3 separate regions of the Homo sapiens genome follow, and all the other regions are linked to region 3. Evidence: promoter capture Hi-C in 16 types of primary human blood cells and fetal thymus (Javierre and others, 2016). All regions are on one chromosome and are shown on one strand. Each heading gives the region's core, a stretch centred on a gene start or on the middle of the fragment in contact. The rest is flanking DNA. Distances are from core to core; before and after follow the strand shown.

Region 1 (4,055 bases), core at 369-2,868, 5.2 Mb before region 3:
TTATAGTAAAACTTTTGCAAGACTTATTTGTATATTCTGTCTCCATTTCCTCACCTTCCATTTGTTCCTTTACCCAATAGACACTGGAGTCTGTTCCCATGATGCCTCTGCAACTGCAGAGCAGTTGGTGACCTCATTCAGGTCACCAGTCATGGCTGCGTTGCCCAGTTGAATGAGCACTTCTCTGGCCTCATCTTTTTTGTTCTCACAGCAGCATTCGATAGAAGTCCTCTCTCCTTAAGGCATTCTTCTCCCCTGGCTTCTGTGACACACCTCTTGGTTCTCCTTTTACCACTTTCATCATGACACCTCACTCTCAGCTCCCTGTCCACTTCACAGCCTCCCTGCTATTATCTTCACTTACATGTCCCAGAGGCATCTCATATTCCACATGTCCCATATAAATCCACTGACATGAACTCTACCCTTGTGAAACTGGAAGCTGTCTTTGACTCTTCACTTCTTAACTCTGAAATGCAATCCAACAGCATATCCTGTTGGCTCTGTCTCAGAACTGTGCCTTGCATCCATCCACTCTTCTCTACCCTGGTCCACATCCCATCACCTCTTACCTGAATTATTGTGAAATTTTCTAACATATCTATGTTCTTCCCTCTCATTATCCACTGATCAGATGGAGCCATCATTTAGAAGCTCTTCAATGGCTGCTTCCTCACCAATCCTAGAACAGCCATATTCTTTATCATGACCTGCAAAATCCTTGCTTTTTTCTGCAAGTTCATGTGCCACTTTCTTCCTTACACACTGTTCTCCAGTCTCTTTTCCATCCCTTAGTCATGCCAAAGTCCTTCCTATCTCAAGGCTTTGGTGTTTGTGATTCCGTCTGCCTGACTGGCTCTCCTGAGTTCTTTGCAGAGCTGGTCCTTTTATTCCCCCAGCTCAGGACTCAAGTGTCACTTTTCCATCAAGTCCTTCCTTGACCACCCTCTTTTAGTAGGAACTCCCAGTTATTCCCTATCTTTTGCTCCCTGTTTATGTCCTGCTAAGCACCTATCACAATCTATAATAATTCCTTTATTCTGAATCAATTATTGTCAGTTTTCTTTCTAGAACATAAGCTTGTTCTCTATTGAATCTCCAGTGCCTAGCACAATATCTGCTGATCACAGCCACGCGATATGAAAGTGCTGAATGAATGAATGGAATTGTAGAATGCCATGTGGCTGGGCAGTGCTCAATGCTTATATGTACATTATTTCATTTGCCTTACTGCAGTTTGGTTGTATATTAAATAAAAGAGACAATTCATGTCCATTTAATTACCTTTCTGCTCCTGTAACAACCTAAGAGCAACCACCATGTAGCAGGATCCCAGCACTTTAGATGTACACTTACTCTAATTCTCTTTAGCTAAGTGGGGCTATAAAAACTTTTACAGATGTTCAGAAATGGGGGATTGTGTGGCTTCATGAAAGATGACTTGCTTTGGAGTCTGGTACTGGCTGTAGGATAAATGAATGGTATGGTCTTAGCCAAATCTTTTAATTTCTCCAGGTTTTAGATTCTTTGTCAATGAAATGAGACATTGGGGCTTGGCTTTCTTGCCTACAACAACATTCTAGAATTTGGTGAGTGTCTGCAACCTGCCTTCTAAACAGAGTGCCTCACCATGGAGTGCAGGTGGGTTGGAGCACAGATGAAGCCCCGGTCCAACCTGGGCATTCCTGCAGCCATGTGCAGTGACCCTTGTGTATGTGAGTACCTGTCATGTGCCCACGTATCCTGGTGGCACAAAAGGTACTTCATGTAGATTGTCAGGACCAAGACACAGAACGTTCTTGGGGCACACCACAATAATTCCCCCACTAGCATTCACCTTAAGATGAAAGAAGTAAGTAAAACCCTTCTCAGATCTCAGGGAGGACCCTGCAGATGGATCCCTGAAAACTTAAGGCCAAGGCCATTCATGCCCATTATTGGGTTCGTCCAGACCTTAGCATTAATCCTGGCCTTGGTGAATAAGAAGTGAAAGAACCATTGTGGGGCATGAGAGAACCACACCAGACAGAGTTTCAGGGCAATGAGTCCCTGGGGAGAACCTGGAACAGAACTTCGAATACCTAGTCTGCCACAGATTTTTTCCTGAGAACTTGCCTTTCATTATTTCTATTTAATACCTGCTGTTCAATGTTTAGATTCACTCTCTTTGTGATCCCAATGCCTCTTCAAATGTTTCCAGTTTTTTTCTAGTTGATGTGGATTCCCCAGATTTATCTCATTTCATGATGTCTTCGGAATTGCATGTTGTGCCACCATCACACTTCACACTCTCAGTAAGGAGCTCTCAGTTGTCTCACCTGGTTCGTGTCTTCCTGAATGTACCAGTGAGGGGAGCAGAGAGGGAAGGATGCACTGAGTTGTTAGCCTTTTTCCAGCAAAGTATGGAGAGCTGAACCTTTTCAGGAGTAATGGGTTAAACAGAAGTGGATGACTTGCCCACTCTTTAGAACGTTGTATCCTCTATGGGCTGATCAACTGCTATCATGAGTGAACCTGAAAGGATTATTCTGGATTGGTCAGTTTTCAGGAGGCTGGTCATTTTGATCGTAGATGTGACTTTCTCCACCACCTGGGTCAGACTCCATGTGAAGCCAAAAACATCCTGTATATTATAAATAATTTTACTTTTTTCCTTCTTGGAAAGTTAATAACATTCTTCATTTTCTGATAGGCATAAAAACAACTTTGTTGTTTTCTAGTTGAGTTCTAGTATCTGGAAATGCTAATAAGTCTGTGAGATTTTCACACTGGAATTATGTGGAGTGATGTCCATGTGGGTATTGGGGAACTATGTATAATCGATCCAGGAGTTTAATTTGGCCCCAACCCTTAAAAAAATGTTTACCCTACTGAAGGGCAGCTCCAAATAAGTTAATGAGTAATGGGCTATGAATTTTGCCATTTTGCCTGATTTTAGTGAGGTGGCCCTCTGGTTTGAAGTAGATTGCCTCTCATTAATGACCTTCTCAAGAACTTTCAGAGCCTAGGGAGAGGGCTAGAGCATAAAAATATAATTCAAATTAGTCCCCAAAAGTCACCATGTCCAGTAGAAGTCTCTCAGGCCCATGGCTGGACTTCTGGGAATGTTTGGGCAATGTAACCACAGTGATGTTTATTAAATGGAATGTCCACCTCACAGTGCTCTCAAAAGTATTCTTTTTTTTAAATTTTAAGTTATTGCTCCTCTTTATTGTAAACGATGTCCTATAAAGAAGATATATGTCTACAATTGAGCTTTGAAGGAGGACCATGGAGCCAGTTCCTTTTAAGGGGAATGAAGTCAAGCAGTAAATTTGCTGGTCACTCTTTTCATATGGACCGCATCTCAGCCAGCAGTTGGTCTTTGATGTTGTAACAATGGCACTGGGACCTGAGGCAGAGGAGCACCCCCATAATACTGAAACCAGCCTGCATTCATTCTAATTTGGAGAACAATCTGTGGGATAGTACGCACATCAGGGAGCCCAGAGAGTGAACTCCAGGGCTGTGGGTAATCTTTCCCAGTGAAAATCAGCCATCTCTTCTACACCATGTACCCTGCCTGCTGCATTCTTTACTCTTTTATTAAAATTGAAGTATGATATTCCTACAGAAATATACACATATATAACTCTACAACTCAATGAGATTTCACAAACTGAAGACACCTAGGCAACCAATGCCTAGATCAAGAGGCAAAACATTACCAGCACCCTAGCTGCCCTCCTTGGACTCCCTTTTCATCACTTCCCTGACAAAGGTAACTCTCTTCCAACAGCACAGGTTCCTTTTTCCTGGTTTTGAACTTTACCTAAACAGAATTATCCAGCATGTACTTTACTGTGCCTGGTTTCCTTCACTCAACATTACATTTGTGAAATTGTGCATGTTGCATATAGTTGTCATTTGTTCATTCCCACTGTGTACACTTAACTACCTTATTATCCATTCTGTTGATGGCATTGGGGTTGTTTCAAGGTTGGGGCCATTTTAAACAGTGCTGCTATGAACATTATTTTTTAGGTCTTTGAGTGCATTAGTGAATAGATTTCTGT
Region 2 (4,410 bases), core at 1,670-4,169, 5.2 Mb before region 3:
AAGTGTGTGCATTGAGTGGACAGTCTCACCGAACACTATTACAAGATAAGCTGAAGCTGGTGGATTAGCAGCTACTTGGGACTCAAGATATTTCTAGGAGCATAACTCTTTCTAAATCCCCCATTTGTTGTGTCCTCTTGGGGCAGTTCTTCAGCCAAAGCCCCTTTTGAGAATTCAGTCCACTTCCCTTTTAGAACTGCCACTTCCACCAGCTGCTTCTCTCATTACCTTACTGTTCAAGCGGAAAAGGCCAACCCCGGGTTATTCTAATGATAGCAAACACCTCATAAAGTAATCTGCCAAATTTACTTTTCCACAGAACATCATTTTTATGGCTTTTCATGAGTCCATGAGGAAAGAAAGCATCATGTATAAAATATAACTTCCAGAAATCTTGAAGATATTAAGAATTATCTCCGCAGTGTTAGATTGGTGGGTGCCCCAGTCTATAGGATGGTGGCATCTTCAACTTCCGCATAGAAATTCCCTCAGTCTGTCACTGTACTTATCTACCCACGGGAGAAGGTGAGAGAACCCACAAAGTTAGGACATTTTTAGAAATGTCTCAAAGTTAAAACAACTTTAAGCTTTGGGGTGTGTACTTTTCTACTGTTTTGTAATTGCGTGCAATAATCACCTTGCTTTAGTCTATCCTGGTAGAGACAAAATTTGGTGTAATCAAGAGTTTGGAATGTCTGAACTTTGACAAGTTTTTTAACCTCTCTGTACCTCAGTTTTTGCATCTGTAAATGAGGCTATATTAACAGTACCATGTCTTGTAAGATTATGGTTAAATTAAGTGAGTTAAATTCTGTAAAGTACTTAAAACGGTGGCACGTAGTAAACACAATGGAAGTGTTTTATTAGTTTTCTCTTTACGGTAAAGTTTTTCGCAATAAATTGTATAAAGATGTAAAAAGTGAATTATCAAAGACAATGAATATAAAGGCCTTTGGGAACAATGAATAATGCTTATTTCATTTTATTTATTTATTTATTTATTTTATTTTATTTTATTTTATTTTATTTTTTTTTTGAGACGGAGTCTCGCTCTGTCGCCCAGGCTGGAGTGCAGTGGCGCGATCTCAGCTCACTACAACCTCCCGGGTTCAAGCAATTCTCCTGCCTCAGCCTCCCGAGTAACTGGGACTACAGGCGTGCGCCACCACGCCCAGCTAATTTTTGTATTTTTAGTAGAGACGGGGTTTCACCATGTCGGCCAGGATAGTCTCCAACACCTGGCCTGAGGTGATCCACCCGCCTCTGCCTGCTAAAGTGCTGGGATCACAGGCGTGAGCCACCGCGCCTGGTTTGAGCAGATTTTAGGAGCCAGAGAATCCCCTCTGCCTCCTGGGAAAATCCCTGCTTGCTTTTGCCTATGCTCCAAGTTTACAGTTGTCCCACCCCTAGACTCAAGGAAAGGCGCTAACATAGCGGCAGGAAATGCCTAGCTGGGCAATTCTATTCCTAAGTCAGAACTCACATTATGTCTGACCGTCCACTACGCCCTCTCCTTGCCCTGAAGTTGAAATGGATAAACAGAATCCCATTGCTAAAGCGACCTTCAACGGGGAAGATCCTTGGGAGAAAGACTTTGCTACAAGTTTAAAAGCCCCAGGTAACCCTGGCCCAAATCACTACCGGTGCCTTCACTCTGCACCTTCCCCATGACCAAGGGGGCACAAGGGGGGAGGGGGGAACCTCAGGCGAGGCTCCCGGAGGAAGAGGAACACTGGAAGCAAGGGAACCCTGAGGGTGAGGAGGGGATGCCTGGCTATTCTCCTTGGGAAATTATGTCCTGACCTTTGGCATTGCTTCCTAAAGGGGTAGACTCCCGGAGTTCTTTCTCCCAAAGACTTCAGGGATATCATCCTATAAAGTCTCCTTGCGTCCCTCCAGCCTCGAGTAACATTACTCAGCCTCCGAAGGGCAACGAAAGACTGGTAGCACCCCCAAGCAAGCACATTCTCCACACTTCCTCTGCTCATCCCAAACCTCGCTCCTTCCCACCTCCCCACCAACCCCGCACCTGACCCGTGACAGACAGAACTGAAGGAGCGCAGCCCGCAGACCTGGAAGCCGGGTGCAGCCTCCAGGCACGTGCCCCCGCTCCGCCTCTGCCTAAGTCAAGTGGCCCGGGCAAAACTACTGCCAAAACAGTTGCTCTTAGGTGGGGCAGGGGACCTGCCTCCCTGCATCCACCCGGCACTAGCTCAGCACCCCCGCCCCACAAACCGTCCCCGCAGCCGCGCACGGCCCTCTCCGGCGGCGCACTCACCTGCAGCTGGGCTTGGCTGGCGTTGCCCGCGGCCGCGTCGGGCCCGTCGGCGGCTCCCGAGCCGCGCAGCACGGTGATGTGCAGCGTGAGCAGCAGCAGCCCCAGCAGCAGCAGCAGCTCGGCCGCCAGGCGCACCATCCTTTTGAGACGCGCGGCTTTAGGACCCGGCGCGGCGGCCGGCGGCGGCGGCGGTGACGCCGGGGGAGGAGGAGTAGGAGCCCGGGAGCCCGGCAGCGCGGCTCCCGCCTCGGCTCCCGCCAGGGCTCCGCTTCCCGGGCCCGCGGGGCTGGCGCTGGGCGCGGCGGGGTGTGCGGGGCCGGGGGAGCAGGAGCTGCCGGCGCCGCCGCCGCCGCCGCCGCCGCACCACGGCGGAGCCACCGCGAGGCCGGGGGTGTCCAAGCCGGCTGCGGAGCAAGCCCCGGCGCTGCCTGGCGGCGGCGGCGGCGGAGACGGAGACTGGGTCCCGGGACAGCCCGGGACCCGGGCCGGGCCGGAGGCCACCCTGCTGGCAGGGGGCTGCGGGGTCGGCGGCGGGGCGGGCGCAGCCGAGCCCCCGAGCGCACATGGGCGCCCCAGATGTGGCCGCGGCGCCGCAGCTGGAGCGGGAGCGGCCGCCAGAGAAGCGCGGGGAGGAGGAGGAGGAGAAGGAGAAGGAGGAGGAGGAGGAGGAGGAGGAGGAGGAGGAGGAGGAGGAGTAGGAGGGCTTCAGCTGCGGCCGGGAGTTACCTCCACGCTTGGCGCCCCCGCCCTCGCCGCCCCGAGCCACTCACCCGGCAAGCCACCTCCACTACTCTCCGCGCTCCTCGGGGCCGCCTGCCGCGCCGCCCCGCACTCGGAGTCCCGGGGAGGGCCGGTTCCAGATGGGGGCCCCGGGCACACCGAGGTTGTCACGGTTTGGCGGTAGCCGGGGCGCCCTCGGCGGCAGCGTCAGCCTGCCGGGCTGTACCAAGTGCCCGCTGCCGAGGTCGCTGTGACGGGCGCGGGTAGAGCCCTTGTGCACACTGAGGCTCGGGGCTGTGGGTGGGTGGGGTGGTGCCTGGGCTGCTTTAGAAACCTTTATTGGCAAACTGGAGCTGGAGTTGCAGTGATGGAAAACGGAGGGGGCGCCGGACAAGCCATGCGTCTGCCTGCGACCCCTGCCTGAAGCAGTCGGGGGAGAGGAGGAGTGCCAAAGTGTCGTTCCGAAGGGTCTTGACACTTGCTGGGCCGCCCGCTAGCCGGGCACGGCTGTTCGCGGATCCGCGGCGCCCCGTAGAGCCTGGGAAGGGAGGGGAGTCCGACTCTCTAGGCGTTCGTCTGGTCACGGGCGCAGGTGTTGGCTGGAAGCTGCAGAGACGCAGTGCCCGCGGCTCAGGCGCTCAGGAACTCGGAGTGAATCTCAGCTCTAGTGGGCTTGCCTCTGTGGGGGGCTCATCCCGGGGGTGCCGCGCCCAGAGGGGATTTGGGGGCTGGCGTCGCGCAGCTGTCGATCCCGGGCCACCGCCTCATGACCGCGCTGCAGCCTCGGGCTCCCGCGTGCGGCTCATGCCTTGCAGTGGGCGGTTGGCGAATGGAAGGGCTCTGGGATCCGGCTGAGGGCGCGGAGTCCGAGCGTCAGATGCTAGAGCGAACTGTGTCGGTCCGTGGCACCGCGCACTTCCCTCCTTGACCTTGCTCGGGCTCCCGCCTTACCGAAGTGACTCGGAGTAGCGGACGCTCAGTCCGGCCGGGACTTTTATACTGCGCTTCCCCTCCTCCTACCCGTTCCCTCCCTTCCTCCTCCCCAGCGCCGGCCCAGCCCTTCCCTCCCAGCGAGCCAAGACCTAGTCCACGCGTTCGCACACAGCCGCGTCGCACATTTCCAAGCCTTTCCCGCGTCCCGGACCCCAGTGCCTCCGGGATGGAGCCTCCGAATTCTCCCTTGGTGAATGAAATTAAATAAATAATCAACTCTTTCTTGACGGCACGCCTCCCTTTCCCCCTCCCCAATTTCCTACCTTCCTTCTCCGCGTCCTAGAAAGATTTAAGATTCTTAATTCAACTGCTTTCGAGTTCTCGCAAGGCATCTCAACCAAGTATTAACCAAATTAAGGCAAACCCTTGCGCCTTTGCGAAGGTTCCTCCGGTCACCGCGGTACTTTGCAGAATTTAAA
Region 3 (4,166 bases), core at 15-2,514:
GATGTTGCACCACTTTTCTTTCACCTATCTTCTTTCCATTCCCTACATTTTATTTCTGGAGCATTGTAAAACAAATTCTACACATCATTCTATCATGAAAGTGATAAAATGACAGAATTCCTGTTTATGAGTCACTTCTTTTTACAAGCACAGTAAAATGTTTTCCATTGAGTTTATGGAATTGATATGTATGTACTTAATAACAGTGAGTCTTAGTAGCATTCATTGCAAAGACATTTTCTTAAATTTCAATAGTTTGTAAACCCTTGAGTGTTTTATTTTAATGATAAGGGCTAGGTCCACATAGTTTTTAGCTAATACTAATTAATGCATAATGCAGGCCAGATCTTCTCTTCAGGCAAAATTAACTTCCCTCTCCTATAAGTATTGATTGAAATTTGCTCTCATGTGCCCTGAAGTACTTTTAGTCTTATTGCTGTCTTTGTTTTAAGCCGAGGGCAGAAACCACATCCTTTTCATGGTCTATTAACCACATTACCGAGGTTCATGGTTTGCACAACTAGTAAACACATACAAAGCACCCTTTGAGAAAGCTTCCTCATCCTTTAATTGTAATCCAGTCTTATATATTAACGGTGTGGTGGTCCCAAGGTACAGATTCATCTAATGTGACCTGGAAAGAAATTTGGAAATCACTTAAGGCTACCCTCATTTTAGATCTGACAAAACTGTAGTCAAGAGAAATGTGAGGTCCATTTTACTGCAGGTGGCAATAGTCTTAATTGACTCATTTTATCGGCTAGTACCCATGTTTTTAAGAGTTTCTATGAAATTAACATTTTTTGTAAAAAAAATGCAATTGCATAGGCTAGTTTCATCAATATCCTAAATTAGTGATGCTTCAATATACACATGCAGAGTACTTAAATTTTCCTCTCTCTTCAGCAGGAGATACTCACCACGTCCCTCCATTTTTCATTAAACATACGTGTACCTTGCAGCCCGTTGCTTTTATATTTGCTATCATTGAAGAGGGGATGGATTTTAAAATTACTGGCCATGTTTCCCTTTAGAGAAGCCCACACGCGCCAACCCTGCCCTTATTGGAGCCTGGGCAGCAGCGGTGCATGTTCTAACTTAGGCAACGTTGGGTCATCTGTTTATTGTCAGCTTGGCGGTCAGGAAGAAAGGGCGGTGGTTGCTGAGGTAACCGACACCCCGGGCAACGGCAAGTGGAGGCGGGAGGGGGCGTGGCCTCGACGGGCAAGCGGCGATAAGAGGTGGCGTCCTCCGCGGCATTGCGAGCACCGCCAGTCTGCGCCGCTAGGCGTAGGCGGGGTGGCCCTTGCGTCTCCCGCTTCCTTGAAAAACCCGGCGGGCGAGCGAGGCTGCGGGCCGGCCGCTGCCCTTCCCCACACTCCCCGCCGAGAAGCCTCGCTCGGCGCCCAACATGGCGGGTGGGCGCTGCGGCCCGCAGCTAACGGCGCTCCTGGCCGCCTGGATCGCGGCTGTGGCGGCGACGGCAGGCCCCGAGGAGGCCGCGCTGCCGCCGGAGCAGAGCCGGGTCCAGCCCATGACCGCCTCCAACTGGACGCTGGTGATGGAGGGCGAGTGGATGCTGAAATTGTGAGTGTGCCCGCCCGCCCCGGACGCCGCAGTGTCCTCGCGGGCGTCACCCTCCCAAGCCCGCGCGGCCCGGTGGCGATCCCGCATTGCCGCTTGGGCTCAACCTAAAACCCCGGACCAGGCTTGCCAACAACCTGCGGCGCCGGTGCCGGGCCGCTTGCGATCCTGCACTGCCGCTGGGCTCGACCTGGGGTCCGCGGACCCGCCTTACCAACGACCTGCGGCTGTGGGGCCCGGCCGCTCGCGCCGCGCATGCGCGCCGAGCCCTCGCGGTGACAGCCGAGGGTGCAGCGCGTCCCCTTGCTTTGGGGGACAGTGTTTTCGGGGTGGAGTGGGCAGCTTCCCATAGGGAGGAGAAGGGAAGGAAGAAAATCTGCAAGCAAACCGTGTGCTTTTAGATACAGATATGTATTGGAAGAGAAAGGACATTCAGTGACATCCACGTGCAGTATGAATACGTAGCACAGGCTAAGCAAGTTACCTGTTGAAGAAATTGCAGCACGGTGAAGGCAGGCCATTTGTGTCGTAGTCTTCCGTTTGAAGACCTGGAGATGTCATTGTGAGAATAAAACATAAATATGGATGCCTTTTAAATTTTACAGTATGATTTCAAATAAATGTTGATACTTATTATAACTTGTAAAGGTAGGACTTTCTGAGTAATATTAATAATTGTGCCATAAAGAAAAGAAGATACGCATTGCCCCTTTTAACAATAGAAAGCAAATGGTGGATAGTGCCTTTTCTTTAAGGAGATGGGAAACTACAGTTTTGAGTTAGGAGAAAGAAAGGGATTTGTTGATTATAGTTTAACCTTATAATAGGAAGTGACCATTTGAAAGAGGCTTGCAGTGGATGGTGGGCAGATGTCTGAGCGGGCTTGAGAGACCATCATGGTGGGCTTGCAGACTCTCTCTCTCTCTCTCTCTCTCTCTCTCTCTCTCTCTCTCTCTCTCCCCCTCCCTCCCTCCCTCCCTCCCTCCCTCCCCCTCTCTCTCTCTCTCCTCTCTCTCTTCTCTCTCTCTCTCTCTCCCTCCCTCCCTCCCTCTCTCTCTCTCTCCTCTCTCTCCTCTCTCTCTCTCTCTCTCCCTCCTCTCTCTCTCTCTCTCTCTCTGTCTCTCTCTCCCCTCCCACAACTCCTTTCCACCCTACCTGCCCCCCTCCCGCCCCCACCCCCCAAACATAAAATCTTTCAGGAAATTGCCACATCTCTTTAGCCTGTGGTTTCTGGCAATCTGTATACTACTATTGAATCTTTGTTTTACGTTGAGGACACAGACAGAAAATTGGATCTTTCCTTTATCCAAGACCAAGTTTTGATTCTTTCAATTTAAATTGCAAGCAGGTGCCTATGGAGTGAAAACCTCAGTGTGAGATCAGAGCCAAAATTTATGTCACACAGCAGATTACATTGCTCGAAGAACATAAGGCATATCACCCCTTCAAATGTGCATTTACCTCTTAGTCACAAAGAAGGGGATATTTTAGACCTCCAAATGAAATACCCTTGGTATCATAATAAATCAATGAAATTATTAAAGGGAACTGTAGACATGAATTATTAAAATATTCCACTTAACTATTTTTGGAAGAAGGTGAGGGGGTCATATTCTATTTGAGAAACTTTTAAAATAAGTGGAGCTGTGTTAAGACTTCCATGTTTGTAATAATTTTAAGAGTTTGGGATAAACTGCATTTTGTCAGCCAATACTACAGAAAGTTCTCTTTTCAGTAGGTGCTTACAAAATGGACTTTTTCCTAGATGTCATCTTTCAGGGTAAAACTGAGTTTGCATATGTATGTAAGAAAAGTTAAAACAGAAAGGCCTCCTCATTTTTAATGACTTCAACTCCTCTATGGTTCCTTTTGGAATTGCTTTTTTTTTGGTAATAGAATTAAGAACACTAAAGCCTCAATAAGTTTTTGAGGGAGAGCCAACAACATCTGTGCTTGGCCATGTTGATGGTTCAAATTTTACTTTTTTATGAATGTATAAACCTAAACATAGTAATCAATTGCTCTGAGTTTGTCATGTGTCCAGTTGTATGGAATATGCTTGGCCTGTGATGCCAGATGAGTCTTGTAATCTGGAAGTAAGCTGTGTAGACACAAGGTCATTTTAGTAGACATTCTCTTTTTATCGAGTGCACTTCAGAATAGGTGGCTAGGAAGCAAGGCTGTCAATGAAAATTGATCCAAACCATTCCATCCAACTTCTTTATACGCACTAAAACCCAAGTGCTCATCCTGAAGAAATATTTTGGTTCTTATCTATTTGTGATCTATTTTTTTCTGTATTATCAGGTGATACTCCTCCTCCTTGCTGTGAAAAAAACTCCAGTACTTAAAAAAATATAAAATTCATTATATCCTCCATACCACTAGAGGCCTGCTATGAATTTCTAAGAATTCATTTAAATAGCCTATACGTTACCAGATTTTTTTTTTTATGTATATAACAGAGAAAAACAAAATGCATTAAAATTAGCTTCATCTTGACACTTAGTTCAGATGAGCTGGTCATACATAAATGGAAATTGTTAGTAGTTCAAAGATGTTGTAGTTAACTTCTTTAAAGA

Evidence for each region. The method cuts DNA at HindIII sites, captures the fragments that hold promoters and counts their contacts. A CHiCAGO score of 5 or more calls a contact.
Region 1: the fragment with the promoter of ISM1-AS1 here is called in contact with the fragment with the promoter of TMX4 in region 3 in 1 of 17 cell types (total CD4 T cells); the score reaches 5.9 in total CD4 T cells.
Region 2: a contact is called between the fragment with the promoter of ISM1 here and the fragment with the promoter of TMX4 in region 3, in 1 of 17 cell types (total CD4 T cells). The highest score is 5.2, in total CD4 T cells.

Annotation. Positions count from the first base shown.
Region 1 is chr20:13,237,250-13,241,304 of GRCh38, reverse strand. It overlaps ISM1-AS1 (ISM1 antisense RNA 1), which reads left to right and starts at 1,618. Exons shown (of 3, transcript NR_040043.1): 1 at 1,618-1,852; 2 at 2,201-2,321; 3 at 3,196-3,885. All of the region lies in intron 1 of ISM1 (isthmin 1), which reads right to left. It also overlaps a transcript of TASP1 not described here. The HindIII fragment of the contact is 6,320 bases long and covers 1,082-4,055 here.
Region 2 is chr20:13,219,783-13,224,192 of GRCh38, reverse strand. It overlaps ISM1 (isthmin 1), which reads right to left and starts at 2,919. Exons shown (of 6, transcript NM_080826.2): 1 at 2,279-2,919. The coding sequence starts at 2,416. It also overlaps a transcript of TASP1 not described here. RefSeq lists silencers at 2,488-2,557, 3,017-3,136. The HindIII fragment of the contact is 8,964 bases long and covers 590-4,410 here.
Region 3 is chr20:8,016,859-8,021,024 of GRCh38, reverse strand. TMX4 (thioredoxin related transmembrane protein 4) reads left to right here and starts at 1,264. Exons shown (of 8, transcript NM_021156.4): 1 at 1,264-1,587. The coding sequence starts at 1,412. TMX4-AS1 (TMX4 antisense RNA 1) reads right to left here and starts at 1,119. Exons shown (of 7, transcript NR_184034.1): 1 at 921-1,119; 2 at 1-634. RefSeq lists silencers at 1,264-1,503, 1,614-1,753. The HindIII fragment of the contact is 3,626 bases long and covers 557-4,166 here.